Regions from separate parts of the Homo sapiens genome. Here region 1 is linked to region 2. Evidence: promoter capture Hi-C in human tissues and cell types (Jung and others, 2019). All regions are on one chromosome and are shown on one strand. Each heading gives the region's core, a stretch centred on a gene start or on the middle of the fragment in contact. The rest is flanking DNA. Distances are from core to core; before and after follow the strand shown.

Region 1 (2,700 bases), core at 3-2,502, 560 kb after region 2:
TACTACACCATTTTTAATCTCACTTCTTAAAATTTAATGTATTTCTTACTGTTGTTATAAACAAATTAAAGTATCTTAATATTAAAACTTATTTGTCAAAATCACCCATAAACGAGTCAAAATAAACCAAAACAAACATAATTATTAGTGAAACAAATTCATTTTTGAGTTCAGTCACATCCAGGTTATATTCCTCAGTAGAAAAGAAAATGCTTTCAGTATAATGGCAATTTTTTTTTTTTTTTTTTTTGCAGAGTACAAGAGTGTTTATCATTGTTGTTCATATACACATACTCGAATATGTAGAAAAAGTATTGGAACGAAGCTTACCAAATGTTAGCAGTGGTCTGCCCTAGTTGTAGAATCATGAGTAATTTGTACTGTCTTCCTTATATAATAAGCAGTATTAGTTTTATAATAATAAAATTTTTTTAATATTAAAATACAATTATGTCAATAGGATTGTCATCTGTACTGGACTATTGGCTCAGAAGTTGAAAGCAGCAAGCATGCTTTGAGAGATGATCATTAAAATTTGAACTTAATTTCACAGTAGCTTCTATGTTCAAGAAGTTAGAGTTTTATTCACATGAAATTCAATTTGAAGGGCTACACAGTGAAAGATCACAAGTACCTTTTGCTAAATTAATTTTTCCAACTTGAAATGTTCTCACCACCTCGCTTCACTTTTAAAGGCCCAATGTAAGCCCACATCCTCAATGATGCCTTCTGAAACCTCAGCAACCTCTACTAATCTTTCATATCTGAACTTGAAAGACTAATTGCGCCTCTCTGTGAGTGCTTATCCTATGCACTGTCTTACTTATTTCATCTATTTTTGTCTTTTGTTATTATTTAACACATATCTTGCTATTTGTCTTCCCACACAGGCATGTCTTAACTCCCTCATTAAATGGCAAGCTCCTGAGGTCAGCAGTTGTATTTTACAGGTTTACATTTTCCCCTACTCCCAGCAGAAGGCTAATGTTATGCATTAGATATGACTGCTCAGAAGCAAAGGCTGTCAACACTCATTTTAAAAATTGTCTAATTTTATGTTTATAACTGATGAGTGCCCTCAGCACAATACAAATTTTAAAATAATTGTGACTGTTTTGTTATTTTAATTACTCAATCTTTTCTCATGCACACACACGCTCTTACTAGTAAAACCACATGCACTGCTGCTAAAAGCAAAGAACCGAATTAGCTTAGCTAGACTCAAAAATTCGTGAATTTCAAACAGAATAAAGACCTTTAAGTCCTGAGAAAGTCAGATATCCATAGGATGTCTTGGAAGCACAATAGGTTGTCTGAAATTATCTCATGTTCATCCACTAGAGTTATGGGTTTAAACAATGGTGATGTACAAGAAAGCAAGCAAAGGTCAGCTGAAGGATTCTTCATGTAATTCTCCTTCCCAGTAGGAAAGCAGACAAGCAGTCAAGCCTATATGCCAACTGCCAAATATACTGCAGTCATATGCGTAAGTCTGGAGGGGCTGGCTTAGTGGCACAAACATCAGCTGTGCAATACTTAGACTCTCTGGAACCACAGGTTAAAATCCTGGCAGGGTCAGCTGAAATTTTTAGCTTTCCAAGTTTGCTGAAGGAGTTTCACATATTGTCTGGGTGGAATCTTTGAAAAAAATCTCAAATCGAGCTTCAAAGTGCTCTCATAAAGATTGTGACTCCAATCACTTTGCAGAAAGAATAAAGACTTAGAACACAGTAAAGTGTTGGCTGTCTTTATCCTGAGAGTTCAACTTTATGTTTGTGACTTTTCCATCAACTTTCCCTTGTAACTTACCCCTACTTGTGAACAAAACAAGCCACAACTTTCTTAATATGTGTTTGAGTGTTCTTTTCTGGTAAGAATCATGCCCTTCTTTTAATGATTCAGTGTGTTGGGGACTCTCAATATTAGCAATAGATAGGGGTCCATATATCTTATAAGCAAACTCGGACAGTTTGGGGAATGAAAGAAAGTGCTATTATTATTTGTGCTGAAACAGAAATAAACAAGAATGTATGATCACTGTGATAACTCTAAAAGTCCAATCAGTACTTGACCATTCCCTTTGAGGTTTTTACTGCATTTTATTATCATTAAAGTAAATCTTCTTAGAAAAAAAATAGCTTTCTATCTACCTAACCTAATTTTTCTGCCTTCCTGGTCATTTATAAATGAGCAGGGATTTGAAATAAGCAGATCAGATGTCTGAAAGCAAGAGTCGATCCCACAAGCCAGAAATGGATCTTCTGCAAAAGAGGCCCTACTCATTCCAAACCAGCCTGTCTGCTTAGAAACCAAAACTATCCCAATCAAAGATTGTCACTGGCCTCCCATTAATTCTATACTTTTTTCTGTACCCAGGGTTATTTTTCTTTTATTTATTTTAAACCATAAGCCACAAAACATTTGTATGCAGCCAATCAGAAATAAATACTGTTTTAAAGAAACCTAAAAGTTGGTGCCCTTGCAAGTAGTTTTATCTAAAGTATAACATGAAATGTACATGTATATTTTCCATAAAATAGTTATGCCTAGATCAGAAAACAATTCACAGAAGTTAGTGGTTATAAATGTATAGCCAAAGGTAACAATGTAAATTTTATTAACTTAATCAGGCAATATTTCATGTGGGAGATTAGATCAACTAAGAGATAAATCAATCAGGTATGATTAAGTAAACAGTTT
Region 2 (2,700 bases), core at 13-2,512:
CTTATTATTAGCATTTATTTTACAGGTTACATTACCTTAGAGGGGGAGTTATTAGTTTGAGTTTTATCATCTGTCTTGGTGGGTTTAGCATGCTGAAGAGGCCCACAGTGCTGACACTCCCGCGCGTCCCACCCTGAGTAAACCCGGAGCCTAGAGGGCTGCAGAAACACGTCCGCCAGGCGTCTCCTGCCCCAGAAGAGGAGGCCGCATGGATGCGTCTTTTTTCCAGAGACCCCCCCGCCACAGCCGCCCCGCAAGCCAAGATCAGAGAACCCCTTCCTTGGGTGGGGTAGGGGGACGCCCCCGGCCAAAGCCTGGATTGCGGTCTGGCGTCCCGGCAGCCATCCGGATGCTCGCGAGGACCGTGGCCTGTTTGGCACAAGAGCCCCACTGCCTCCCAGTTCGGAGCTTGCTGGGGACCGGCAATCTGGGCGGTGCTGGAAGTGTCCCCTGAACCTCTCAGTTTTCACCCACCTTCTGCAATCTCCCTGTAAGCTTAATTGACTCTTGACACACCGCACTGGAGGCGGGGTGTGTGTGTGGGTAAACTCCGTGTGTGGTGGGTGATATTGCGAAGTGTTGGCACTGCGGCCGCTTTCGCTCCTAGGTGGCCGCGGTCGGAAGGTGGGTCACCCCGCACCCTTGCGGCCGGGGACCGACTCTCCTTCGCGCGGCGGTCGCCACACTTACGGGATCCGAGGCGGGATCTCCTCCATCGATTTGAAACGCCCTGTCCACAGCAGGATTTTCTTGTCGAACTGCGAAGGCCTGCGCTGCGTGGGGACTCGGTGAATCTCCCCTGCAGCGAAAGCAACCCAGATGGACGCGGGAACTGACGCACCGGCACAGAGGATCAGCGCGCCCTCAAGCCGACTCCCGGGCCGGCCCCTCGCTGCCCTCCCGCAACCTCCTCCCTCCCAGGACCTCCCCGTCGGAGCCCTGGCTCACCGTGACCTTGGGGCCCAGAATTGCTGGGGGCCCCGCCGCTGGAGTAGCAGGGGAGACCCCGGGGCGGAAGAGCCGGTGCGGGCCGTCGCGTGGCCTCGAGAGGCGCCCCGGGGCCGCAGCGGACTGTTAGCCCGCGGCCAAGGCGCAGTAGGCTCCCGACCGCCCTGAGCATGCTGCCCGCTTGTCCCGCGCCGCACCCGCACCTCCGGACCCAGCCACAGGCGTTGTCCCCGCAGCTCTCCTCGTCCCGCCCCGGCCTGCCGCGCGCTGGAGAGCCTGGGACGTGCAGCTGGAACCCCTGGCGCTCGCACACTCAGCTCGCTATCCCCGTCTCCGCCCCCGGCCAGCGACCCGGGATCAGGGCGTCAAGCCCCGAGGGGCTGGTTCCTCAGGAAGCAGCCTGCCTCTGTTTGAAACAGGCTCACCACCGCCTGAGGCAGTGCGTGTAGCTCCTTTTAAATTCTTTGTATTGAGTAGAAATGTATTCCCGCCAGGCTTTTAGCCTTTGATTCCATCGTTTGTTCCCCAGGAGAATAAATCTAAATCCTCTCTTCCAGGAAGAGACAACAATCCTTCAAGTGCAGGAAACTGAAGACATTTCCCAATTAAGTGTTAAGGGCACTCCACTAACTTCTGGATGAGATTTCTTGAAGTTAGCTCCTCACCTCATCGTCTCCCACCCCCATACCTTTTCTCTTTCCTACGGAAAACAATCTCAATTCCTCCAAGTGCCTTTCTCTATCTTTTCTTCTTCTTTTCAGAGACAGTCTCTGGCTCTGTCACTCAGGCTAAAGTGCAGTGGCATGCTGATAGCTCATTGTAACGTCGAACTCCTGGACTCAAGTAGTCCTCCCACCTTAGCCTCCAGAGTAGCTAGGGCTTTGGTCGTGCGCCAGCACGCTCCGCTATTTTTTTTTTTTTTAAGAGATGGGATCTCACTATGTTGTCCAGACTGGTCTCCAACTCCTGGCCTCAAGCTATCAGCTGGGCTCTGCCTCCCAAAGCACTGGGATTACACGTATGAGCCGCCATGCCAGCTTCCTACCTCTTCATCTCTTAGCCCACAAACTCTCCACACTCCCTTCAAAATGTGCCTTTCTTCTGTCACCTTCCACCATCTCCTCTATGCTAAAAGGTAAAAGAATCTACTATTTTCAGGCATTAAATGGTAACAGGGATTCAGATTCAATGATTGGAGAGAAGGGTTGTACAAGCAATTTACTTATCTTGTTCCACAGACAACAGACCTCCTGCCAAGTCAAAGTGCTCATCAGCCCAGCACCAGGCCGAGCTCACCCTCCTCTGCTATTACTGCCTGTGAGTTTCCCTCCTTATCTAGACACTGCTTTGCACTTGTTGGATTTCTAGATATTTTGCTTCCTAACTAGACTGTCAGGCTCTTGAAAGCTATAACTTTTCTGTAACTGCCAGCTCAGTTTTTTTTTCTTTTTACATAACCGTGTTAAACAAAAAAAGAGGGGTTAATAGCTCTGTGAAGACATACATTTAGAGGAGCGCTTGCAGAAGGAACATGGGCTTTGCCTTCACACCTAGGTTTAAATCCCGGATTTGTGACTTAAAAGTTGCACAATCATGAGCAGTAAATCATTTAAGTTATAAGTCTTGGTCTCTTTTGTAAAACCAGAATTCCTATCTTTTAGGTTTATTCATGCAATGACTACCAGTAACCAGCTACGTGCCAGCTACCTCTCAGAGCTGGGGATGGAGCAGTGATGACATCAGGTGAAGATG

Evidence for each region. The method cuts DNA at HindIII sites, captures the fragments that hold promoters and counts their contacts. A contact is called where the count stands out against the background at its distance.
Region 1: a fragment that was not itself captured here is called in contact with the fragment with the promoter of FAM162B in region 2 in 1 of the 25 tissues and cell types used here (lymphoblastoid cells).

What each region holds. Positions count from the first base shown.
Region 1 is chr6:117,321,600-117,324,299 of GRCh38, forward strand. The region is part of intron 35 of ROS1 (ROS proto-oncogene 1, receptor tyrosine kinase); the gene reads right to left. Among named protein-coding and RNA genes, the nearest start is that of VGLL2, 57 kb to the left of the region's middle. The HindIII fragment of the contact is 3,366 bases long and covers 1-2,700 here.
Region 2 is chr6:116,764,457-116,767,156 of GRCh38, forward strand. FAM162B (family with sequence similarity 162 member B) reads right to left here and starts at 1,263. Exons shown (of 4, transcript NM_001085480.3): 1 at 949-1,263; 2 at 691-799. The coding sequence starts at 1,120. LOC105377963 (a long non-coding RNA gene) reads left to right here and starts at 1,912. Exons shown (of 3, transcript XR_942910.3): 1 at 1,912-2,083; 2 at 2,187-2,265; 3 at 2,610-2,700. RefSeq lists an enhancer at 284-798. The HindIII fragment of the contact is 7,101 bases long and covers 1-2,700 here.